7 separate regions of the Homo sapiens genome follow, and all the other regions are linked to region 1. The links are contacts of gene promoters, found by promoter capture Hi-C in human tissues and cell types (Jung and others, 2019). All regions are on one chromosome and are shown on one strand. Each heading gives the region's core, a stretch centred on a gene start or on the middle of the fragment in contact. The rest is flanking DNA. Distances are from core to core; before and after follow the strand shown. Region 1 holds the start of IGSF6 (immunoglobulin superfamily member 6). Region 2 has its middle 79 kb from the start of HS3ST2. Region 3 overlaps LOC112268176 (a long non-coding RNA gene). Region 4 holds the start of COG7 (component of oligomeric golgi complex 7). Region 5 overlaps HS3ST2 (heparan sulfate-glucosamine 3-sulfotransferase 2). Region 6 has its middle 32 kb from the start of HS3ST2. Region 7 overlaps USP31 (ubiquitin specific peptidase 31).

Evidence for each region. The method cuts DNA at HindIII sites, captures the fragments that hold promoters and counts their contacts. A contact is called where the count stands out against the background at its distance.
Region 2: a contact is called between a fragment that was not itself captured here and the fragment with the promoter of IGSF6 in region 1, in 2 of the 25 tissues and cell types used here (H1 embryonic stem cells and lymphoblastoid cells).
Region 3: a contact is called between a fragment that was not itself captured here and the fragment with the promoter of IGSF6 in region 1, in 1 of the 25 tissues and cell types used here (dorsolateral prefrontal cortex).
Region 4: the fragment with the promoter of COG7 here is called in contact with the fragment with the promoter of IGSF6 in region 1 in 1 of the 25 tissues and cell types used here (small bowel).
Region 5: a contact is called between a fragment that was not itself captured here and the fragment with the promoter of IGSF6 in region 1, in 2 of the 25 tissues and cell types used here (dorsolateral prefrontal cortex and lymphoblastoid cells).
Region 6: a contact is called between a fragment that was not itself captured here and the fragment with the promoter of IGSF6 in region 1, in 1 of the 25 tissues and cell types used here (dorsolateral prefrontal cortex).
Region 7: a fragment that was not itself captured here is called in contact with the fragment with the promoter of IGSF6 in region 1 in 1 of the 25 tissues and cell types used here (lymphoblastoid cells).

Annotation. Positions count from the first base shown.
Region 1 is chr16:21,651,003-21,654,627 of GRCh38, reverse strand. It overlaps IGSF6 (immunoglobulin superfamily member 6), which reads left to right and starts at 2,020. Exons shown (of 6, transcript NM_005849.4): 1 at 2,020-2,096. The coding sequence starts at 2,030. All of the region lies in intron 4 of METTL9 (methyltransferase 9, His-X-His N1(pi)-histidine), which reads right to left. The HindIII fragment of the contact is 6,081 bases long and covers 1-3,625 here.
Region 2 is chr16:22,733,145-22,736,655 of GRCh38, reverse strand. No RefSeq gene overlaps it. Among named protein-coding and RNA genes, the nearest start is that of HS3ST2, 79 kb to the left of the region's middle. The HindIII fragment of the contact is 3,246 bases long and covers 1-3,060 here.
Region 3 is chr16:23,020,626-23,024,350 of GRCh38, reverse strand. It overlaps LOC112268176 (a long non-coding RNA gene), which reads right to left. Exons shown (of 2, transcript XR_002957913.2): 2 at 1-1,388. Among named protein-coding and RNA genes, the nearest start is that of USP31, 130 kb to the left of the region's middle. The HindIII fragment of the contact is 4,514 bases long and covers 1-3,533 here.
Region 4 is chr16:23,451,305-23,454,866 of GRCh38, reverse strand. COG7 (component of oligomeric golgi complex 7) reads left to right here and starts at 1,678. Exons shown (of 17, transcript NM_153603.4): 1 at 1,678-2,041. The coding sequence starts at 1,873. LOC124903667 (a long non-coding RNA gene) reads right to left here and starts at 2,124. Exons shown (of 2, transcript XR_007065030.1): 1 at 1,602-2,124. RefSeq lists enhancers at 1,349-1,398, 1,689-2,018. The HindIII fragment of the contact is 22,477 bases long and covers 1-3,562 here.
Region 5 is chr16:22,910,710-22,914,330 of GRCh38, reverse strand. The region is part of intron 1 of HS3ST2 (heparan sulfate-glucosamine 3-sulfotransferase 2); the gene reads right to left. Among named protein-coding and RNA genes, the nearest start is that of HS3ST2, 98 kb to the right of the region's middle. The HindIII fragment of the contact is 4,508 bases long and covers 29-3,621 here.
Region 6 is chr16:22,780,743-22,784,541 of GRCh38, reverse strand. No RefSeq gene overlaps it. Among named protein-coding and RNA genes, the nearest start is that of HS3ST2, 32 kb to the left of the region's middle. The HindIII fragment of the contact is 5,109 bases long and covers 1-3,799 here.
Region 7 is chr16:23,092,028-23,095,572 of GRCh38, reverse strand. All of the region lies in intron 6 of USP31 (ubiquitin specific peptidase 31), which reads left to right. Among named protein-coding and RNA genes, the nearest start is that of USP31, 56 kb to the left of the region's middle. RefSeq lists an enhancer at 1,431-1,977. The HindIII fragment of the contact is 3,212 bases long and covers 309-3,520 here.

The DNA.
Region 1 (3,625 bases), core at 771-3,270:
TTAAGCTCCAGGACCAGAGAGAGATGGAACAGTAGGATGGATACACCGTCCAGCATTTCTTGGACTAGAGATGAAGCCTCTATCAGTCATTTCCAAACCTATGAGCAGGAGATGCCTGGGGGACAAGGGGACTAGGGAAGGTCCTCAAATTCACATACAAACCTGGCACTGACTACAGACACACACACAGAGATGACAGTATATTTAACTTTGGGGGTACTTTTTAGGTGCTATGGTGATACAAAAACTACATACATCTGTTGAAGTGTTAAAACCAGATTGAGGCCGGGCGTGGTGGCACATGCCTGTAATCCCAGCACTTTGGGAGGCCGAGGTGGGCGGATCACGAGGTCAGGAGATCAAGACCATCCTGACTAACACAGTGAAACCCCGTCTCTACTAAAAAAAATACAAAAAAATTAGCTGGGCATGGCAACATGCACCTGTAGTCCCAGCTACTTGGGAGGCTGAGGCAGGAGAATGGTGTGAACCCGGGAGGCGGAGCTTGCAGCGAGCCAAGATCGTGCCACTGCACTCCAGCCTGGGCGACAGAGCGAGACTCTGTCTCAAAAAAAAAAAAAAAAAAAAAAACAAAACAGACTGAGAATAACTTTCTGTTAATGAGAAAATATATCATGAGCAGATGCCAAGGGCACAGACATCATATCATGGTGGGGAGATTTTTCATAATTTTCAGTGGTGCAGATGACGCTCTTCCCATGTCTGGGGAATTGCCTGCCCAGAGTCTGGGAGAGACACAAGGCCTGGGAGCCGCTTTCCTGGCCTGCCGTGCAGCTGAGGCACTGGCACGCAGCCTAAGCCAGGCACACTTGCCCATGCCCTGGAATGGAGAGCCAGTGACCCAGAGTAGTGGGGATGTGAGCTTCTCCTTCTCTGGGGGTGGAGCAATGGCAGTGAGACCAAGGGGCTGGGGCAGTGGTTGAGCGATGCTGACAACAGGGCTGATGGCACCTAGTGTTTGGCAGTGGCAGTAGCATCCTCTTCAGACCTGTTTATGGTGTGATTTGAGGCATTCTTCCTGGCTGTGGACCCCACACAAGATTCACTAGCCCTCCCAGTGACTCTAGGATCTACCTTCAAATGTTTGCATAAATTTCCTTTTAAGTCAGCCTGAGTCTGTTTCTGCTGCTTTACAAAGAAGACCCTTACTGAATCACCACTAAGTGCTGGGGGAGAGGACACAGAGGACAGAGGGCCCACATATTTGTTTCTCAACACATTAAAAGGGGGTCTTTGGGCCAGGCATGGTGGCTCACACCTGTAATCCTAACACTTTGGGAGGCCAAGGCAGGGGGATCGCTTGAGGGCAGGACTAGCCTAGACAACACAGAATCTACAAAAAAAAAAAAAAATTAGCCAGGGGTGGTGGTGCATGCCTGTAGTCCCAGCTACTCAGGAAGCTGAGGCTGCAATGACCTGCAATCTTGCCACTGCATTCCAGCCTGGGTGATAGAGACCCTGTCAAAAAAGGGGGGAAGGCAGGTGTCTTTGGATTCAAAACTGGAGTACAAAAAGTTAATAACAGACAATTTATTTATTCGCTGCATTAGAATGTGTTGTTTACTAACTTTTCTCATCTCTACACAAAGCCACTTCTCCTTCTGCTGTTCTTTGTTCCCAGCAGTTACTGGCCCAGAGTGGCACCCAGAGCAGGTACCCTAGACAGTGACTGAACTGTTCTGAAAAATCCAAGTACGAATTATTTGTCAAACAATACTCCTTCCTGGAAATATGTGCTAGGTGTAAATCAAAATCTCACCCAGAAACATCTAACACCTATGACAACTGTAAAATCCATGGAAAAAAAAAAGATATGCACATTTCTAAATGTGCTCCAGGCCAAAATCTCAATGTTAAATGGTGAAGCCATCCTTGCACAATTTCAAAAAGTTCCTGATTATGGTTCCTTCATAAGAGGTTCCTCTCTTCAGCTCTTCTTCCCTTCTGAAAAAAGAAAGCCAACTTTCCTTTCAAATACACACCCCAACCCGCCCCGGCATACACAGAAATGGGGACTGCGAGCAGAAGCAACATCGCTCGCCATCTGCAAACCAATCTCATTCTATTTTGTGTCGGTAAGGTTCTTTTTCTTCTCCTCCTTCATTTTATTTAAATCAACTGCTATTTTTCACCTAATGCATTTATATTTTAAGCTCCTTCAGATTAATTTTTAAATGTATAACATTATGAAAACTGCCTAAGAGGATAAGTTTCCTTTTTCCCCTGAGAAATAGACAATAAAAAAATAGCTGAGAAAAAGTTTCATATTAACCTTGAAAAGTCTCTTTGCTATTATGCTAATTGGAGACAATCTGACCAAAGGGTTGAAAATATTCTTAAAATCGTAGGTATAAGTTATCAATAATTTAATTATCATACAAACTTGATCTGCACATAGAAAGCAATAAATGATTATTTGCTGAATATTTTCAAAGAACAATTTCTATAAAAGTACTTTTCATTTAAGAAAAAAAAAACTGCCATGACTCCAATAGCCATCCCATAGTATATCTATTTTTAAAATTCTGTCTACTTCTGTTTTTTTATCTATGAAAGAGAAAGGATTTCCAATACATCTAGTAATCTCAGATTTGCCCACACAATTTGGATTATAGGGCAGGGAAGGGGGGAAAGTTCTTAATTTTTTCTCATCTGTGAAGAAATATATCAAAATGTTAATGGGAGTTATTTCAGGCAAAAGGACTATGGGTGACTTTTTGCTTCTACTTTTAATAACCTGTTTTTTGCTAATAAGTATATATTACTTTCATAGACTATTTTAATTAGCATTATTTTAAAGAAGAATTCCTGTCTTTTAGAGATATATTCTGAAAGATGCAGATAAAATGGCTGGGATTTGCTCTAAAATAATATGGGAGTGAGGGAGTAGGTGGGAGGAGAAAAGAAACAAGATTGGGTCGAAGCCATGTGATGGCAGGGGGTTGACTGTACTACTTCGCTACTTTGATATGTTAGAAATTTGAAATCTAATATAATAAAGCTTTGGGCTGGGCGTGGTGGTTCATGCCTGTAATCCCAGCACTTTGGGGGCCAAGGTGAGAGGATCACTTGAGCTCAGGAGTTCAAGACCAGCATGAACAACATAATGAGACCCCCATTTCTACACAAGAAAAAAAAATAGCTGGGCGTGATGGCACCTGCACTGCACCTGCAGTCCCACCCACCTGGGAGGCTGAGGCAGGAGGATCACTTGAGCCCAGGACTTTCAGGCTATAGGGAGCTGTGATTGTGCCACTGCACTCCAGCCTGGGCAACAGAGCAAGACATTTACTTACTTCTTACTTACTAGATAGAGAGACAGCTTTGTTTAAATGTCAAGAATTAGTTCTCTTCCTACTTTCAATATGGCTTTTTTGTTTGTTTGAGACGGAGTCTCGCTCTGTCACCCAGGCTGGAGTGCAGTGGCAAGATCTCGGCTCACTGCAAGCTCCGCCTCCCGGGTTCACGCCATTCTCCTGCCTCAGCCTCCCGAGTAGCTGGGACTACAGGCATCTGCCACCACACCCGGCTAATTTTTTGTATTTTTAGTAGAGACAGCGTTTCACCGTGTTAGCCAGGATGGTCTCGATCTCCTGACCTCGTG
Region 2 (3,511 bases), core at 188-2,687, 1.1 Mb before region 1:
ATGCTGGACCAAAGAAAGGGTTAGGGAACTGCTGCAGTTTGGATGTTTGGACCCGCCAAATCTCAGGGTGAAGTTTTATTTCCAATGTTGGAGGCAGGAGGTGTTTGGGTCATGGGGACAGATCCCTCATGAATAGTTGAATGGCCTCCATGCAGGGCAGGAGGGGTGTGAGTTTTTGCTCTATTAGTTCCCATGAGAGCTGGTTATTTAAAAAAGAGCCTGGACCCTCCCTCCCCTCTCTCTTGCCTCCTCTCTCACCATGTGGTCCCTGCACACACCAGTTCCCTTTCCCTTGAACCATGAGTGGAAGCAGTCCGAGGCTCTCACCAGAAGCAAATGCTGGCATCATGCTTCTTGTACGTGCTTCTTGTGCCATCAGCCAAATAAACCTTTTTCTTTTCTTTCTTTCTTTCTTTTTTTTTTTTTTTGAGATGGAGTCTCACTCTGTCGCCCAGGCTGGAGTTCAGTGGCACGATCTCGGCTCAATTCAAGCTCCGCCTCCTGGGTTCACGCCATTCTCCTGCCTCAGCCTCCCGAGCAGCTGGGACTACGGGCACCCGCCACCACGCCCGGCTAATTTTTTTGTATTTTTAGTAGAGACGGGGTTTCACCATGTTAGCCAGGATGGCCTGGATCTCCTGACCTCGTGATCCGCCCGCCTCGGCCTCCCAAAGTGCTGGGATTACAGGTGTGAGCCACGGTGCCCGGCTAAACCTCTTTTCTTTATCAATTACCCAGGCTCTGGGATTCCTGTACAGCAACACAAAAGGACTAAGGCAGAAACAGTGCTCTCCTCTTGAGCACTACCTTTAGTTCTGTGTGGCTCACTTGGAATAATAATCGCCCAAGATGGATTGAGAACCTACTGTACACCAGGCACTGTGCTACATGCTTTACCCGGATTGTCTCAGCAAATCAACACAAGCACACAGTGTTATTATTGCCATCTTACAGGTGACATATGTGAAGCAAAGAGAGGTTACATAACTTGCCCAAGGTCAGACGGCTTTGATGAAGCCAGCTTTGCACCCAGGCAAACTACCCCAGTCATAATCACTAGCTAGGCTGGCTTTCGGGAGGTGGGACTAGGACGCTCTGTTTTCACGTGGGAGGCAGAAGGAAAGAGTACTTACTTTGTGCTACAAACTTAGAGCTTTAATGAGCACTAACTTAGGCCTTCCTGGAAGATAAGTATTTGATTCCTCATTTTAAACATGAGGCTTCCTAGGAAAAAAACTAGGGCATCTTTGGATCAGTAGCTGAAGTAATTGGTGCAGTTTCACCTAAATGAAACAGAATTTAGGACACATTTGGGAGTGGGGCAAATATGTGAAGGTTGTTAGGATTAAATTTGTTTTGTTTAGTTTCAGGAGGATGGAGTTAGGACAACAGATAGAATTTATAGCAACATAACCTTGTCTCAAAGTTATAAAGGTTTTTCTGATATGGATTACCAATTCTTGTAATCATATTAAATATAATAATACAAATACTATACCATTTACTGAGCACTCATTATGTGCTAACAATGTCACATCATGATATATAAAGCCAGTTTAGTAATAAAATCACAATAACAGTTGTAACTAAGTATTTATGCCAATCACTGTGCAACAACTTTAAATGGTAGATGCTATTATCTTTATTTTATAAATGATAAAACAAAGCACAGAGAAGCTGAGTAAATACACTCAAGGTCACACAGCTAGCAAGAGATCGAATCTGTACGTGAATTCAAACTTCCTGACTCTAGACCAGAGTTCCTAACAAGCATGGCTTCACTGTTCCCCCAAGGAAAGCGGTGAGGAATGGTGGACGGATTGTTGGGAAACACTAGAGTTCCAGCAGCATCCAATGTGGGATTGCCCTGGTGGAAATCTAAGGCTTCTCCCACACTGGGAATCTAAAGACCAGGAGCAGCGACCTGGGCGAGTGAGAACAGATGAACTTACACCAATGGGCTGTGCAGGGATTCTTCCCCCAGGCCCCTGGGTCCAGGCTCCGACGCTGTGTGCACAAAAGCTCCAGCCCTGCTGAGACCAGTGTGCACGTGTTTTATTAAAAGGAAGTGTTTACCCGGCCTACTCCTGGCAGGGCTGCGGCAGCAGTTTATTAGGACTTCATTTGGAGTGTAAATTGATGCCGGTTTATAAAAAGGCTCTGCAGAGCAGCTCCTTCGGGATGGCCCCAATCCGCAGCACTGGGCAGGCGAGGCTTTAACTAAATCATTGATTTCCCTCCGGAAGGAGCAGCCCAGAGATGAGCACTCATTTTGCTGCTTAGCTGCTGTCTCCTCGGCACCTGGAGGGCAAAGGTGGCAAGATTCCCCCTTACCTCCTGTCTCCATCTCTGTACACACACACACACACACACACACACCGCTAATTTCTCTGAGTGCCTATACCATTCTGGTGCATTGACTCTAGAAGGCCAGTAAGGTCTGAAGATTACCCGGCTCCAAGGGGCATTTGAAAGCATGCTGCCTGTTGGTTGTGTGGGTGTTTTAGGTACAGTGTGTGGTGGGGATGGCAAGCCTCATCTCCAGCGTGAAACAGCTTTGGGTTCAAAGGTGACCTTGGACATGGGTTGCCAGATTCAGCAACTAAAAATACAGAATACACAGTTAAATTTGAATTTCTGATAAACAATGAATAATTTTTCGGTATAAGTATGGGACAAGTTTAATTGAAATTTGAATTTCATCTGGCAGCACTACCGTGGGCAGGGGATGGTTCTTTAAGCCTTAGTTTCCTCATCTGTAGAATCTCATGCAAGATAATGTCTGTAAAGTACTTAACACAATGTCTAGCATGTTGTCAGTGCTCGACAAATGTTATCTGCTATGTTATTATTAGTTATATTTTTATATAATCCAATCTGCAGCCTGCTGTGGTCATTTGTTTACATCTTTATTATTAGACTGTGAACTTCTAGACTCACTAGAATACCAAGTCTATCCTAATTTTTATATCCCTAAAGTGTAGAGAGCTCCTGGAACAGATTAGGTGTATATGCTAAATAATTTAATTGATTATGACTTTAACTGTTGCAAAAAAGCAAGAGCCAGTGAGTGAAAAATCAGTGACCCTAGGAATATTTACTCCAAAAGTCAAAATATCCAACTTTTTAAAAGAAACAGAAAGATTTGCTTTCTGTTGACACGCATTTATAGTATCACAGTTAAGATATTATGGACTCCTGAGATTGTCTGCCATGGTTCAAGTTCTGATTCCTCCTCTTCTCTGTGATTCTCAGTTTCCTCATCTGTACAATGGAGATAATAACGGTAGCTATCTCATAAAAGTTTGTGCACATTCAAACATATAGAATGCTTATCACAGTGCCAGGCACATAGAACTTGATGCTCAATGAATGGTGGCTATTAATTCATGCCAGCTCTTGCCCTGTGTTGCCAGGAAGAAATTGGCAGGACCACAGCGAGCACAGGAAGGAGAGGGCACAGTGGAAAGGGGGGGGAACTACAGGATCGGTTTGTCCACAACCTGGAGGC
Region 3 (3,725 bases), core at 27-2,526, 1.4 Mb before region 1:
CTTTATTCATAACAGCCAATAATTGGAAACAATCCAAATGTCCTTCAAAAAGCAAACAGTTAAACAGTGGAACATCCATACTATGAATTACTAGTCAGCAATAAAAAGGAACAAGCTATTGATACATGCAACCATTTGGATGGATCTCAAGGGAATTATGCTGAGTGAAAGAAAAAGCCAGGCCTGAAAGGTTACCTACTGTATGATTCCATTTCTATAGCATTCTTGAAATTACAAAATTATAAATGAAGACCAGATTAATGATCGCTGCAGATCAGAGAGTAGGGGAGGGAGGCAGGTAGATGTTGCAATAAAAGGACAGCACAACAGACCTCTTGGTGGTAGATCTTGACTGTGGCGGTGGCCACACAAATCTGTGCACATGATGAAACTACATAGAACTAAACACACAAACAAGCTCACATGAGTGCATGTAAAGCTGGCAAAATCTAAGATTGGTGGATGGTATCAATGTCAATTTCCTGGTTGTGATATTGTACTACATGTATGCAAGATGTTACTATGGGGAAAGTTGAGTAAAGTGCTCTGTGATCTCTATTATTACTTTTTCTTTCTTTCATTCTTTGACAGAGTCTCACTCTGTTGCCCAGTCCGGAGTGCAGTGGTGCGATCTCGGCTCACTGTAACCTCCGCTTCCCATGTTCAAGCAATTCTTCTGCCTCAGCCACTTGAGTAGCTGGGATTACAGGTGCATGCCAACACTCCCAGCTAATTTTTGTATTTTTAGTAGAGATGGGGTTTCGCCACATTGGCCAGGCTAGTCTCGAACTCCTGACCTCAAGTGATCCACCTGCCTCGACCTCCCAAAGTGCCTGGATTACAGGCATGAGCCACTGTGCCTGGTCTGTGATCTCTAGCATTTCTTAAAACTGCATGTGAATCAACAATTGTCTTAAAATAAAAATGTGTGTGTGTGTGTGTGTGTGTGTATGTGTGTGTGTGTGTTTTGGAATGTCAGTGAGGGAAGTGGATGGAGAGGATGCAGAGGGGAAAAGGTAAGGACTTGCCCAAGTTCACACTGGGTGATGGAGCTACATACTCAGGCTCATAACCTCTGCTTTGAGCCACCACCCCATCTGACAGAAAACTGTTATGACCTTCACTTCTGGAATTTCCCCTTCCTCTTTCCAAACAAGCCAAGATTACAAGGCCCATGCTCTTACTCACACCCAGGGTAGGGTGTGTGAGTTCTGTACCCATCAGTACCACAGATAGGAGGGGTCCAAGAAGGCTGGGAGCCACATCAGGTCTGAGTCCTTTTAGAGGAATTAACATAGACATTGAGAGACAGATGCTGTAGCTCTGAAAGGACCATTGAAACTGAATTTTCCAAGTGCCATTTTCCCCACCACGTAGAAGTAGTGTGCCTGAGAATAAATTAAACACAGAAAATCAGAGGCCGCAGATGGAGGAAGAGAGGCAGAAATCTGATGATGAAACATGAGCATCGACATCTCCTTGTCTGGGTCTTTTTTCTATATCACCTACCTGTATTTATATCCAAAGCATCCACTTCTGGACTTCTTAGGTATATCTCTGCCTCCTGGGTTCAAGCGATTCTCTTGAATCGCTTGGTATTTCCCAGCCTTCTGACTAGCTGGGACTACAGGTGCATGCCACCACATCTGGCTAACTTTTGTATTTTTAGTAGAGTTGGGATTCACCATGTTGGCCAGGGTTGTCTTGAACTCCTGACCTCAGGTGATCCACTTGCCTTGGCCTCTCAAAGTGCTGGGATTACAAGCTTGAGCCACCACGCCTGGCCCACCTTGCTTGCTATTATGCCTCCTAGCACTCTGCCCACCAGTCCAAGCTCTGCTCAACAACGGGAGTCATTAGTGAATCTATGACCCTGGAATGCCAAGACCTGGCCAGCTCCCCAGATATTTGAGGATTCCAATCTGGCATTCCCTCTTCAGAGACCCTCTGTGGGGTGCCCTGAGCTCTGTCTGGGGAGAGGGAAAGGGAGGGCATGTCCTGACGTGGGAGTAGCTCCCCTGGGCTGAGGAGTAGCAAGGCACTGATTTACAGACTTCTTTTTTTTTTTCTTGGAGTCTATTTCCCACTTCAGTTGTCAGCCCATCTCCAACATGATTTAAATTGGGAATCTGAATATGTAGATTTTCAACAAGGTTCTGACACTGGCTGTGGGACAGGAGGAAGTCACCTAATCACCAGTGTCCTCACCTGATGCCTGGGATTTGACTCCCACTGATGAAGGCTCACTGTGGGAGCCTGGTGGCCTCTGCCACTAATGACTGGATGAAAACAAAGCTTGAAAGTCATAGTGCTTCACTAAGGTCTTCGTGGAATGTTTAAGGGCATGGCTGGGTTCTGGGAGATGCTCTGCAGGTTGAGGAAGAGGGAAGCACAGGGCTTGGTGAGCTTTGAGTAGGTAAGCACCAAAAGGTACACTCAGAGGGATCCATACTTGCACCTACCTGTACAGTGGCTGTTCTCTTCCCTCTTGTTGATCTTACTAAGGAGGACAACCTTGAAGTCCCCTCCCCAAATCATCATCCCCTGATTCCATGTTTAGATGACTATGTCAGGGGTAGACGTGTGCTTGGTCAGGAGATAAGTCCCATCTTACCCCACTTCACCACTTCTCTCTTCCTCCCTTCATCCTATCCCATCCCATCTCCCTCCTCTCTCCCCCTGTTGGCCACCCCCATCCCTCCCACTTCAACTCAAGCTCCTCTCACTCCTCTCTTCCACTTCCCCTCTGCTCCATTCATTTCTTTTCCATGTCACTGCATTCCGCTCACCTCCCAGCAGCACAGACTCAGAGCAAGACAGGAGTCTTTTGGGATGTCTTGAGCCTGGGCTCTTACAGATTACAAGGCCCATGCTCTTACAGTCAGGGTGGGGCATGTGAGTGCTGAACCCATCAGTCCCACAAGACTGAGGAGGGGTCCAGAAGGGCTGGAAGCCATGTCGGGTCTGAGTCTTTTTATAGGAATTAACACAGACATTGGGAAAGAGAGAGACCCTTTAGTTCTGAAGGGGCCATTGAAACAATTTTCTATTATCTATTAGCGATACTCCTCTAATGACTTCCACTCAAACTACAGCATGTGCGAATGATCCAGAAGAGTGGTTCTCAGAATCTCAAACCAAACCAACAGCAGTTACTCTTGCCAGGTACTGTCCTAAGAACGTTGATTCTTTTAAACGAGTGAGGCAGATACGAATGTTTTCTGCATTTTCCAGATGAGCAAACAGAGGCACGGAATGCTAAATAACTTCCAAGGGCAAACAGCCAGAGTAGAATAGCTAGAAATTGAACCCTGGTGTCCATAGTTTTATCCACACTCAGTAGCAATGGTGAATGTCTCTATGAGACGGTGAACAGCCCAGGCGTGGTGGCTCACGCCTGTAATCCTAGCACTTTGGGAAACCAAGGCGAGTGGATTGCTTGAGGCCAGGAGTTCAAAACCAGCCTGTCCAACATAGTGAAACCCCGTCTCTACTTAAAAAAATACAAAAAATTAGCCAGGCGTGGTGGCACACGTCTGTAATCCCAGTTACTCGGGAGGCTGAGGCAGGAGAATGGCTTGAATCCGTGAGGCGGAGGTTGCAGTGAGCCGAGATCGAACCACTGCACTTTAGCCTGGGCGACAAGCGTTAAATTCCATCTCAAAAAAAAAAAAAAAAAAAAAAAAAAAAGAGAGAGAGAGAATGAACAAAGGCTGTTTTTTATT
Region 4 (3,562 bases), core at 429-2,928, 1.8 Mb before region 1:
GCTAATTTTTTTATTATTAGTAGAGATGGGGTTTGACCATGTTGGTCAGGCTGGTCTCAAACTCCTGACCTCATCATCTGCCTGCCTCGGCCTCCCAAAGTGCTGGGATTACAGGCGTGAGCCACTGTGTCCTGCCTAAATTTTTAACAAGAGCAAAGTAAGAGGACTTACACTATCAGATTGCTCCCCTCGTCTCCCCTCCCTGCATTGCTCCCCTCCTCTCTCCTTCCCTCCTCTCCCCTCCCCCCAAATAACTGGGACTCCTAGCAGAAGGGTTACCCCAGTTAAAACCTACTCAACCCAGAAGAATGAGACAAACCAAGGGAGATGCCAATGAAAAACGAGTGACTATCAGGCCTGGAGATGGCAGCCAGCCACTCATACCCCAATGGCAGGCCAACCTGGAAAACTGTCCCCTGTAGGGTTTCCAAGGATGACATCTTGTCCTCCCCCTTGGGTTGGTCCCACTCTTGAAACAACATAAAAACTTAGAACCTAAAGAATACCCTCATACCTTCCCCTACCTTTTCTTCTTTTCTTTTCGAGACAGGGTCTCGCTCTGTCACCCAGGCTGGAGTGCAGTGGCGTGATCACAGCTCACTGCAGCCTCGACCTCCTGGGCTCAGGCAATCCTCTCACCCCAGCCTCTCGAGTAGCTGAGACTACAGGTGTGCGCCACCACACTCAGCTAATTTTTAATTTTTTTGCAGAGACGGGGTCTTCCTATGTTGCCCAGGCTGAGAAATTGTTTGTGATTATGGGTTATGCACAGATTTCTCAGCCGCAACACCAAAAGCATGATCCATAAAAAAAGGTGATAAGGAACTTAACAAACTTTAAAAGGTCTGCACCTCAAAACACATCATTAAGAAAATAATTAGTTAGGCCAGGCGCGGTGACTCACGCCTGTGATCCCAACACTTTGGGAGGCCGAGGCAGGCGGATCACCTGAGGTTGGGAGTTTGAGGCCAGCCTGGCCAGCGTGGTGAAACCCCATCTCTACTAATAATACAAAAAGTAGCCGGGCGTGGTGGCACGCGCCTGTAATCCCAGCTACTCGGGAGGCTGAGGCAAGACACTCGCTTGAACCTGGGAGGCGGAGGTTGCAGTGAGCCGAGATCGCGTCACTTCGCTCCAACCTGGGCGACAGAGCAAGACTCCGTCTCAGAAAAAAATAAAGAAAGAAAGAAAAAGAAAGAAATAGCCGGGCGTGTTGTCGCGCGCCTGTAGTCCCAGCTACTCTGGAGGCTGAGGTGGGAGGATCGCTGGAGCCCAGAAATTTGAGGCTGCAGTGAGCTGAGATCGTTCAATTGCCCAGGAATTTGAGGCTGTAGTGAGCAGAGATCGTTCAATTGCACTCCATTGCTGCCCACTGCGCTCCACTGTTGCCCAGGCTGTCCTAGAACTCCTGGCCTCAAGCGATTCTCCCGCGTCAGCTTCCTAAAGAGCTGGGATTACAGGCGCGAGCCACCGCGTAAATGCGCTAATGTATGTCAGGGCTTTATAGTAAGCATATAGTTTAGTCCTCGGCAAATGTTAGCAGACATGGGATATTTGTCGGTGCCGGGAGCTCTCAGTCCGGGGCGTTTTCCCACACCCACCTCTGCTCAGCGCTCCGGACGCCTGCAGTCACTATGGTAACGGCCAACGACTTCCGGAAGAAGAACGGCGGGCGGCGAGGGTCATTCCCAGCCGCAAACTGAGTGCGCTGAGCGGGGAAGCGCAAAGGGGCAAGTTACCCGTCCTGGCGTTTCTGGGGTTCGCCTCGGAGGCTAGCCTCGGTGCTCTCGCAGGCTCGCTCGCTTCTGCATCCCCGTTGCCGCCCGGAGCCAACTCTTAAGTTCTGGACGCCAGGCCTGAGGCAGTTCCGCCATGGACTTCTCCAAGTTCCTGGCAGACGACTTCGACGTGAAGGAGTGGATCAATGCGGCCTTCAGGGCCGGCTCCAAGGAGGCGGCGTCCGGGAAGGCGGATGGCCACGCAGCCACCCTGGTGATGAAGCTGCAGCTGTTCATCCAAGAGGTGAACCACGCCGTGGAGGGTGAGCCGCTCGGGGCCCTGGCCGCGGGACCCTCCCCTGCTCTCGGCTGGGCAGAGGTCACCGAACTTGCGTGAGGCACTCAGGTGGGCGGGGCACGCATGGACAGCAAATACCCTCGGCAAAAGAGCAAGCCCCGAACTCCTGATCACGTCAGCGGGAGTCTCAGCTGGGTGCCGGGCTGTCTTGAACACTTGCTAATTTTGGGTGTTGTTTTTCCTCCTCTGGCTGGGCTATAAGTTTCCTTTTTCTTTTCTTTCTTTCTCTTTGTTTTTTCTTTTGAAACAGGGTCTCTCTACAGTGGCTCGATCATAGCTCACTGCAGCCTCGAACTCCTGCACTCAAGCGATCCTCTCGCCTCTCGAGTCGCTAGGACTACAGGCGCGAGCCACCGCGCCCCACAAATTCTGTTTAAAAAAAAAATTGTAGAGATGGGATCTCACTGTGTTGCCAGGCTGGTCTCAAATTCAAATTCCTGGGCATAATGGGTTTTCCAGTCTTGGCCTCCCAAAGTACTGTGATTATACCTGTGAGCCACCACATCTGGCCTGAAGTTTCCTTTTGGAACTTAAAAGAGTGGATCTTATTGCAGTAGCTCTTCTCTAAATAATTCAATAGCAGATCTCTGGGATTCCCTTTTTATTATTATCCATAGGCACTGGAAGACAAGATGGATCTTTTTAAATGCTAGAAGTTTTAACCAGTTCTTAACATGTCTTTGTTGAGGCACCTTCCAGAATATAAGATAAAACAACTCCAGTTTCTGTTATAGTGACTTGAATCTCAGAGTCAAGAGCCCAGTGTCAAAGAAAATTGGCTTTGACTTTTTGTAATCTAGGAGCACGAGTCTGTGAGGTGTTTATTCAAAGAGTTAAAGAGCCTGTTTTGTACCAAACAATAAACTGTAAAAAGAAAAAAAAAGTGAATTTTGAGAGTATGAAAGAATAGCCAACAGATCCATATATCTGGAAAAAACGTATTATAGTATAGGTATAAGAGAATGACACAGATCTAGAAAACATTGTTTTAGTGGATTTTATTTCAGCTGAGGAAGATAGGCTGGTCTCAGTGGAGACTTAAACCTTTTTTTTTTTTTTTTTTTTGAGACAGGGTCTCATTCCTCATTCTGCTGCCCAAGCTGGAATGCAGTGATACCATCATAGTTCACTGCAGCCTCAAACTCTGGGTTCAAGCAGTCCGCTCGCCTCAGCCTCCCAAGTAACTGGAACTATAGGCATGTGCCACCATGCCTGGCTAATTAAAAAAAAAAATTTTTTTTTAGAGACAAGGTCGCACTATGTTGCCCAGGTTGATCTCAAATTTCTGACCTCAAGTGATCCTCCCATCTTGGCTTCCCAAAGCCCTAGGATTACTGGTGTGAGCCACCACGCCTGGCCTAAACCATTTGTTGAGGATAAGTTAAATTATAAAAAATAACATGCACTGGCAACCATTTCATGTAACTCCTCAACTTGACTTTTATTCACCGTGTGTTGATTCACTGTGTGTTGATTCAGTACGTAC
Region 5 (3,621 bases), core at 1,033-3,532, 1.3 Mb before region 1:
TCTGTATGCATTAATATGGAATGATTTCCAACATACAGTGTTAAATGAAAACAGGCAAGATACAGCTTGTATATCTTAAGAAGGATAAATAAGTTACCAATAAAAGTGGTTGCTTCTAGGGAGGAAACTTGAGGTGAGTGCAGAATTAGAAGATGAGGGATAAATGAGAATTGCTTTTTTTTTTTTTAAGAGACAGGGTCTCACTTCACTCTGTCTCCCAAGGTGCAGTGCAGAGTTACAATCATGGCTCACTGAAGCCTCGAACTCCAGGCTCCATTGATCCTCTCACCTCAATCTCTCAAGAAGCCGGGACTACAGGCTCATGCCACCACTCCTGGCTGATTCTTAATAATTTTTGTAGAGATGGGGTCTCACTGTGTTGCCCAGGGTGGTCTTGAACTCCTGGGCTTAAGTGATTCTCCTGCCTCAGCCTCCTGAGCAGCTGGGATTACAGGTGTAAGCCACCATGCCTGGCTTATTTTTTGTATTTTTTGTAGAGATAGGGTCTCACTATGTTGCCCTGGCTGGTCTCAAACTCCAAGCTTCAAGTGATCCTCCTGCCTTGGTTTCTCAAAGTGCTGGGACCATAGGCACAAGCCACTGCACCTGGCTAAGAATTACTTTTTATTGTATAACCTTTTAAGCTGCTTGAAAATTTTAATGCATTTATTACATATTCAAAAATTACAAAGTAAGCCACTGAATATTGTTCTGGCAAAAGATATTTCTCCAAATATATTAAGAAAATCTTTTTTTGGGGAAAAAGTCTTGTCTTGCAGGAATAGCAACTGTTTTAGATATGAGTTCTGACGTCTTCTGCTGAAAAACATTTGAAATACATCCTTTGTGTAGGCTTGAACAAGCACAGAACTCCAGGCTGCTTGGGACCTCAGTCAGGAGTCAGGCTATGTAACCTCTCTTTCCCTTGCTTTTTAATTTCCTGGCTCTGCTTGAGACCTTAAGGGATGTGGGAGGAAGCACTGAAGTCTCTTTCCCAGGAGCATCTCATTCAGGCCTTGATGGACGGGAGCATCCCTGGTTCCCAACCGCTACTTCTTGATGAAGGTCATAGTTGACCCTTACGTGCATTTTTCTTAATCCTGGCTGCGCGTTAGAACTACCCGAGAAGTCCCTTCCTTCCTTCCGCCCTCCCTCCCTCCCTCCCTCCCTCCCTCCCTCCCTTCCTTCCTTCCTTCCTTCCTTCCTTTCTTTCTTCTCTTTCTTTCTTTCTTTTTTAAATAAACATGTCTGGGCTCTGTCCTAGAACAACTGATTCAAAATATTCAGGGAAGGGATATACTTCTATAAAGTTCCTCAGCTCATTCTAATGGGAAGGCAGAGTTGAGAAACACCTTTCCCAATCCTAATGAGGTAGGAGGCGGGTCTAGACTCCGGAGGCAGGGCTTGCTTGGACACAGGACCAAATTGAGGACTAGCTAAAACAGGGCGGGGAAGAAGCAGCTTTCCACAAGACACGCCCACCTGTGTGCCCTGTCAGCTTACCATTGCCATGGCAACGCCCCGAGGTGACCATCCCTTTCTATGGCAACAACCTGATGACTTGGAAGCTACCACCCTTTTTGTAGGGTGGTAAATTTCTGCATAATCTGCCCCTTAATTTGCATGTAATTAGAAGTGGGTATAAATATGACTGCAGAGCTGCCTCCGAGCTGCTACACTGGATACACTGCCTATACAACACCCCTGTAGGGTAGCCCTTCTCTGCAGGGAGCAGTGCCTCTGCTTCTGCTGTACACTGCTGCTTCAATAAAAGTTGCTTGTCTAACAACACCGGCTTGCCCTTGAATTGTTTCCTGGGCAAAGCCAAGAACTCCCCAAGGCTCGCCTGCCCTGCATCACTAACACTATGATTTACCAACCCCCAGAACATTCATTCTCACATCCTTTGGAATATCAACTCCTGGTTCTTAGCTTTCTGCTTCCTGGCTCCTATCACTATCTCCACCCAATACCCTGGCCTCGCAGTTCTTTGACCTTTGACACTCCAAGTATTTCCATTTTCTCTTCCCTTCACCAACTCTTTTTCATGGCCATACGTTGGGTCATGTCATTGCAATTTCCCTAACTCTGAAATGGTTAACTCAGAAATTTCACTCTAAAACTATGTAGAGGTTTGAATGGTGACCTTCCAAAAGATATGTCCGCCCAGAACCTTTGTTCTGTTTTGGGGTTTTTTGTGTGTGTGCGTGACAGAGTCTTATGCTGTCGCCCAGGCTGGAGTACAGTGGTGCCATCAGGGCTCACTGCTGCCTCAAACTCCCCTGGCTTAGGTGATCCTCCCACCTCAGAACTCCCAGGTAGCTTGGACTACAGGCACTCACCACCACTCCTAGCTATTTTTTGTATTTTTTGTAGAGACAGGGTTTCACCATGTTGCCTAGGCTGGTCTTGAACTCCTGGGCTCAAGAGATCTACCTGCCTTGGCCTCCCAAAGTGCTGGGATTACGGTGTAGCCACCACACCCAGCCCACCCAGAACATTTGAACGTGACCTTATTTGGCAAAAGGGTCTTTGCAGATGTAATTAAGTTAAGGACTTGCATATGAGATCATCCCGGATTAGAGTGGGCCATAAACCCAATGACGAGTGTCCTTGTTAGAGAAGGGAAGAAGAGTCACACAGGAAATACGGTGACCTGAAGATGAAGGCAGAGTGTGAAGTAAGATGTCTACAAGACGTGAACACCTAGGATTGCCACCAGCAGCCACCGGAAGCTAGGAGAGAGGCACAGGGCAGATTCTTCTCAGAGCAGTCAGAAGGAACCAACCCTGCTAACAATTTGGTCTCAGACTTCTATCCTCTAGAACTGTGAAATAATGCATTTTGGTTGTTTTAAGCCACCTAGTTTGCAGTAATTTGTTATGGTAGCCACAGGAAACTACAGATTACAACCTTGTCCCTTTCTACCTTTTCCACAGTCTCAAACTTCTTATACCCATTTTCAAATTCATCTGGGATTCTCTTGATTTCACTTTATTCCATACCTTCTCTGTACCCAATGAACAATCATTTCAATAGCATCATCTTCATCCTCATCAATTTTCCTGTTCTAATTGCTCTCCCCAGTCTCTAATAATGCATCCTTCCAGCCTTTTATCCTTTCCAGTTCTGTCCCTGGGTTGCCAAACAGCACTGGAGAAAATTGCTGTCACTTACAAATATATCCTTAATATGTTCATGGATTCTAGCTTCCATTGAACCCTCAGTACTGCTCAGTGATCTTATATTTGTCTTTTCAGGCCCTTTCCATCATTTTTCATAGTAAATGTTTCAAATTCTCATCATACACTCCCAGCCTGAATCCTTTCATCCACCCTTAACATGCAGCTAGTCACCCATGACACTAGAAAGGCATAAGCTTTCAACCTAACACCTCAACTCCTTCAACCTGCCTCTCCTCCATCTTAAAGCTAATCCTTATGTGCAACCATCCTGAGCCCCTCCTGCTAGTCTCCGAGAACAAGGTATGCAAGGGCTCACCCATCCACCTGTGCTTAGATCCCTTCCCCTTCTACCTTTCCTGCAAACCCACCCATTGGCGCCTTGAACCTTCTAATTCATTGCTAGACTGATACAACTGATCTTTTTCTTCTAGGCCCA
Region 6 (3,799 bases), core at 463-2,962, 1.1 Mb before region 1:
TTCTTCTCGTCCTTAACATTTTTGCAAGCCTTAGCTCTTTTTTTTTTTTTTTGCCACAAACTCCCCGAGACCATTCTTGTCCATGCTCACCACTCTTTTGTATTCACCTTTAGTTTTAAGCACCTCTTTCTATCTTTTATGTACTGATCATTTTAAGATCAGAACTCACCAGAGAACTCCCTATGAGAACACGCTCATTTCTTTAGGGCCCTCATCCCCCACCCCATTTTCCCCCCATGGAAATCATATAGAAAATTGTCAAACATCCCCTTATTGAGTTTCATGCAGTCTGCTTCGCATTTTTGGCATGAGGCCATGGCCTGTGAAAATGTCAAAATCTTTCTAGCAGTTAAGCCATGGGGTCCAATAATTCACCTGATGGTCACAGCAGCTCCATGAGCTAGCAGGGCAGACACTAAGATCCCCACCTCACAACTAAGAAGAATCTCAGGGAAGTTTCACGACGTTATAATTGAGGCTAAAATCCAGATTATTGGGCTTCTAGTCACCAGCAACAATATTGATTGGGCATCTACCCAATCATGCAAGGCACTGTTCTCGACTGTAGGGATACACTGGTGAACAAAACAAAGTCAATGATCTCATGGACTTGCCGTCTAGTGTGGCGAAACAAACAAACAAATAAACATAGAAAGTAAGCCAGATGGTGATGGCCAAGGAGGGGAAATATGTTGCTTTATATTGGATTAGGACATGCTTCACTGATGAGGTAATATTTGAAGGATGGTGCATTTATTGATCACAGTATAGGAGCCCTAGAGGGTCAATGGGAAGGTTTGGGAGAATGTGAGGGATCAGTAGGGGTCAGTAGCGGATGCACAGAAAGGTATGGAGCTGGGAACATCTTTCATGATTCCACACTTGCATGTCCAATTACTTCCTTGGCCTCACTGAAGTTTCAGTCTCTCAAACTGGTTCAGAACCAGTCCATTGATCTTCAACCCTAAATTTATGCCTTCACTAGTCCTTCTCACTTCCGTAAGTTGCAACACCAGCTTCCCAGTACTCACAATTAAAACCTGAAGGCTTCTCTGAGTCCTTCACTACCCCAGCCCACCTCCAAGGCAACTTATCCACAATTCCTATTATGCAGTCTTCCTGGAAAAGAGGTCTCATATCCAACTACTTCTTTTTCTTGACAATCACTGCACCAGTCCAGGCCTTCATCATTTCTTACCTGGTGGGTGCAAAACCCCCTCATTCATATGCCCACTCCTACACTTAGCCTTCTAGTCTGTTCTTTACCCAGCAAGCTAGATTAATATTTTTAAAACATCCATTGAATCACATCACTCCTTTGCTTAAAATCCATAGAAAAAATTCCAGACGCTTACTGCGGGCTTCAAAGTCCTACATGCTGAGGTCTTTTCACTTGGATATCTTTGCAATCCTGTTTCTCCTGACAAGAGGATCTCTGAAATGCTTTTCTGTTTTCTTCATACCCGAATACCAACTTGGATGCATATCGAGTTACAATCTTCTTTTCTCAAAGTTGTAGAGGCATCACTTCAGTCTGTGACAGTGTTTGTCGCTGAAGCAGAAAGGTCTGAGCCTGCCAGATTCTTTTTTTAAATATATATTTTGTTTTGTTTTCCTTTTGTGTTTGTGTTTGTTTTCAAAGGTAACTGTTTTCTTGCTTGAATGCCTGCGGCATAATTTTTATCTTCAAAATGTAAAAAAACACTTTTAGATTGTGTCTAATGGTAGGTCCCATTTCATTACTTTTTTTTCTGAGAAAATAATGAAGCATTTTATTAGCCAACAGGAGAGTTTTTGCTGCTTGCGTCTTTTATAATTTTATATTCACTTGCCTGTCATTTCCCTGCCATCTTTTACATTTCACTTCCTCTGGCGATGGTGTTTCCACACTGAGGAAGAACACTTAAATCTCATGAATCTAACAGAGTCACGGCCAATCCAGTAGCTGCTTCCCACAACAATCACGAGACCCCTTACGAGTGCCCAGCATGACTTCCCTTCTGGGGTTGTTGTAACAGAAGCATAAAATGTCCATTCAGAGAAACACACAGCCTTATCTGCAAGGAACAGAGGAGCTGAAGGGATACAGTCTGGAAATGACTAATAAGATTAGAGGCAATATTCTGGCCTTGATGTTTTGTCAGGTTCTAAGTAGAATAGATCAAAGTGTGTCTTTATTTCCACAGTCCAAAAAAAAGCCCTCAGGCCAAAAAATGTCACTGCTAATTCAGTTTTCTTTTTCTAATGTGTATGTCACTCAGCACCTTTTGATATTGTAGCCATCTACCTGCTGCTGTATTTTTTAATCCTATTAGAACTGAACTTCATGGCCAGTTGCTTCGGTCTTTGAGAAACACAAATGAGACCCAATGGACTACTCTGTGCTCAACAGGGATTTCAGTTATGAAGTCTAGAATCACAGGGCTCCTATAAGCCTAAGGAAGAAAAACAGCCATTCACCATTCTTTCCCAAATGTCTGTCTTTTCCCTTCCCAACCTGTTTTCTAAATCATAAGAAGAACTTGGGGGTGGGATAAGTGGCATTTCCAGTTTGACTTAATCACAAAAGTTAATTCCACAGGGCAAAATCAGAGTTAATTCAGCAGTGGCCTGAATTTAAGCAGAGTCATGGTTGAAATAGTACAGAGCACTTTAAGGTCGGTGAAAAAAAATCATTAAACATATAAAGCTTCCAGAATTTGTAATCCAAATCTATAAACAGATTTCCATACACTGATGCAGAGAAAACGCAATTATCATTCATCACAGGTCTTTATTGTCAGAGCATCTGAGCTGAGTCCAGTCCGGCAACAGAATTCATGTTTCTCCACCACGCCCCAACTAAAGCCCAAAGTGACAGCGACGTGAGACAGACACTGAATAATTCAGGCCCTAAATTGCCCCCCTGAGCTCCCTCTCCATGTGTATAGTTCTCTGTAGATCTGGATGATTCTACGCACATCTATGGGTTTGAATCAGGAAATTACCTCTATTGATTTCGTCGGAGTGTGTGATATAAATTTACATTCTGTCTGCCTGGCCTCAAGCTTAAATGCCAGCAAGCATCCCTTTCCAAATGGCCGAGTCCACACTGGCCATTCGGCTTGAGATGGGAGCCTCTCCTGGGTAGGGGATGCTCGGAAGGTATTTTTATAGTGATCATTTAAATTCTGACGTTTTTATTTGTGAACAATTTCAAACATAAAGTAAATAAGATTATAGCCATCTGTGTACCTAGCACTCAAATTGTACCAGTGTTCACATTTTCCCTTATCTGATTCAGATTTGTTTACATCTATAATGTTACAGGTAAAGCACAAGTCACCCCAGGCACATACTCCGCCCTAGTCTCCTCCCGACCTTCCGCCTCAGATGTAAGCATAACCCTGAAGTTGGTGTGGATCTTTCCCGTGAATATCTCAGTATTTTTACCACAAATATATACGCATCTTTAAAATTTAGAGACATGCTGGCCGGGCGCGGTGGCTCACGCTTGTAATCCCAGCACTGTGGGAGGCCGAGGTGGGTGGATCATGAGGTCAGGAGTTCGAGACCAGCCTGGCCAACACAGTGAAAACCCGTCTCTACTAAAAATACAAAAATTATCTGGGCGTGTTGGTGGGCGCCTGTAATCCCAGCTACTCGGGAGGCTGAGGCAGGAGAATCGCTTGAGCCTGGGAGGCGGAGGTTGCAGTGAGCCGAGGTTGTGCCACTGTACTCCAGTCTGGGTGACAGAGCTAGACTCCATCTCAAAAAAAAATTAGAGACATGCTACATGAAGACGTGTCTTCAACGTTAT
Region 7 (3,545 bases), core at 665-3,164, 1.4 Mb before region 1:
CCTTCATTTCAACCTTGGTGAATCTGACAATTATGTGTCTTGGGGTTGTTCTTCTCGAGGAGTATCTTTGTGGTGTTCTCTATATTTCCTGAATTTGAATGTTGGCCTGCCTTGCTAGGTTGGGGAAGTTCTCCTGGTTAATATCCTTGAAGAGTGTTTTCCAGCTTGGTTCCATTCTTCCCATCACTTTCAGGTACAGCAATCAAACATAGATTTGGTCTTTTCACGTAGCCCCATATTTTTTGGAAGCTTTGTTCATTTCTTTTTACTCTTTTTTCTCTAACCTTGTGTTCTTGCTTTATTTCATTAATTTGAGCTTCAGTCACTGATACCCTTTCTTCCACTTGATCGAATTGGCTATTGAAGCTTGTGCGTGCATCACAAAGTCCTCATGCCATGGTCTGCAGCTCCATCAGGTCATTTAAGCTCTTCTCTTCACTGTTTATTCTAGTTAGCCATTTGTCTAACCTTTTTTTCAAGGTTTTTAGCTTCCTTGCGATGGGTTTGAACATGCTCCTTTAGCTCAGAGAACCAACCTTCTGAAGCCTACTTCTGTCAACTCATCAAAGTCATTCTCCATCCAGCTTTGTTCCATTGCTGGCGAGGAACTGCGATCCTTGGAGGAGAAGAGGTGCTCTGGTTTTTAGAATTTTCAGCCTTTCTGCTCTGGTTTCTCCCCATCTTTGTGGTTTTATCTACCTTTGATCTTTGATGTTGGTAACCTACAGATGGGGTTTTGGTGTAGATGTCATTTTTGTTGATGTTGGTGCTATTCCTTTCTTTTTGTTAGTTTTCCTTCTAATGATCAGGTCCCTCAGCTACAGGTCTGTTGGAGTTTGCTGGAGGTCCACTCCAGACCCTGTTTGCCTGGGTATCACCAGTAGAGGCTGCAGAACAGCAAATATTGCTGCCTGATCCTTTCTCTGGAAGCTTCGTCCCAGACAGGCACCCGCCTGTATGAGGTGTCTGTCGGTTCCTACTGGGAGGTGTCTCCCAGTTAGGCTACATGGGAGTCAGGGACCCACTTGAGGAGGCAGTCTGTCCATTCTCAGAGCTCAAATGCCATGCTGGGAGAACCACTGCTCTCTTCAAAGCTGTCAGACAAGGACCTTTAAGTCTGCAGAAGCTGTCTGCTGCCTTTTGTTCAGCTATGCCCTGCCCACAGAGGTGGAGTCTATAGAGGCAGCAGGCCTTGCTGAGCTGTGAGGGGCTCTGCCCAGTTTGAGCTTCCTGGCTGCTTTGTTTACCTACTCAAGCCTCAGCAATGGTGGATGCCCCTCCCCCAGCCAGGCTGCCACCTCGCAGTTTGTTCTCAGACTGCTGCGCTAGCAGTGAGCAAGACTCCGTGGGCATGGGACCCACCGAGCCAGGCATGGGAGAGAATCTCCTTGTCTGCCGGTTGCTGAGACCTTGGGAAAAGCACAGTATTTGGGCAGAAGTGTCCTGTTTTTCCAGGTACAGTCTGTCACAGCTTCCCTTGGCTAGGAAAGGGAAATCCCCCGACCCCTTGAGCTTCCCGGGTGAGGCGACACCCCACTCTGCTTCAGCTCACCCTCCGTGGGCAGTACCCACTGTCCAACCGTCCCAATGAGATGAACCAGGTACCTCAGTTGGAAACGCAGAAATCACCCATCTTCTGCATCGATCATGCTGGGAGCTGCAGACCAGAGCTGTTCCTGTTCGGCCATCTTGGAACGGATCCACTTCATTCCTTTTTAATGGCCGAACAGTATTCCATACATACATATGCATGTACCACATTTTGTTTATCCACTAATCTATTGATGGGCATTTGTTTTTTTCCTACCTTTTGTCTATTATGAATAGTCCTACTATGAGCATTTGTGTACAAGTATTTGTTTGAATACCTGTTTTCAGTTCTTTTGGGTATGTACCTAGGAATGGAATTGATGGATCATATCATAATTCTATGGTTGTCTTCTTGGGAATTGCCAAACTGTTTTCCACAGGAGCTGGATCATTTTACGTTTCCACCAGCAATAGATGAGAGTTCTAATTTCTCCACATCTTTGCCAACATTTATTTTTCATCTTTTTGATTTTAGCCATCCTGGTGAATGTGAAGTGTTACTTCATTGAGGTTTTGACTTGCATTTCTCTAATAGTAAATGATGATGAACATCTTGCCATGTGCTTGTTTGGCCATTTATATATTCTCTTTGGAGAAATGTCTATTCAAGCCTTTTTCCCATTTTAAATTGCATTATCTTTTTGTTGAGTTGTTTTTGTTGAGTTGTAAGAATTCTTTGTAAGGATGTATAATACTAGACCCTTATGGGATATATGACTTGCAAGTATTTTATTCCATTCTCTGGGTTTTTTCTCTTTCTTGATAGTGTTCTTTGACGTACAAAAGTTCTTCATTTTGATGAAGTCTGTTTTTTCTTTTGTTGCTCATAATTTTGTCGTCATATCTAAGAATCCGTCACCACATCCAAGGTCATAAAGATTTACTCTTGTGTTTTCTTCTGAGTTTTGTAGTTTTAGCTCTTACATTTAGGTTGTTGATACATTTTAAGTTAACCTTTATAAATTGTATGAGGTAGGGACCAAACTCCATTCTGGGACAAGTAAATATTTACTTGTCCCAGCACCATTTGATGAAGAGATTGTACTGTCCTCATTGAATGGTCTTGGTGCTCTTGTTGAAAGTCCTTATTTTAATTCCTCTTTTACTTTACCCTCTACTTCCAGAGGCCTCTGGCACCTCCAGTTTCTGATTCTTTCGGTGATCCTGTATATTGGGTTGGCCAGCTTTCTCCAATGCCAGCTTACAATTCAGTTTTCTCTGGTCTACTCATATTTACAATATTTTCTAGATAGTCTATTATTTCACTTATTCTTCTTTGACCCAGGTGCTTGTTTGTGTTTCTTTTCCAGTTGTTACGTTTCCCTGTATGTGTTTTTGTTTGGATTGTTTCTAGTTTTATTGCATTACAGTAAAAAATACCTAAATTATCTTGTCCAGAGAGCCTTTCCTCACTCCCTTTACCTGCAGGCTGGCTGGCGAACTCCTGCTCTTCTGGGCAGTTAACTTCTGTTAATCTCTCACACCAGCGTGTTATGTGGAAATGATTTGTTTTCTTCTCTGTCCTTCCCACCACACTGTGAAGTTCTCTGGAGCTGGGGCCACATTTTGCTTTATCTTGTTATACCCAGCAGTGCAATATAGTTCTTAATATGCAGCAAGAGCCCAGGTAATGTTTGTTCAACTGAAAGTTTCTCAAAATCCTGTTCCCACCCCAGTTGCTTAGGGTTAACACTAAGCTTCTATTTATAAGTGAATTTGGTGAATCCAAAGGTTATTGTATTCTAGCCAGAGACTGCCTTATTGAGTCTGCGTTAGCCTCTATCCTAAGGCCTTAACAGATGTTTTATTCAATATATAATGAGGCTACTGCTTTCCCCACATTACTGGTGAGGAAGCTGAGACTTGGAGATGAAGTAACCACTCCCAGCTCACACAGCTGGCAGTAAATGGGTCCACAGTTTGAACACAGAGCTTGATTTCTGTGCAGTTGACAA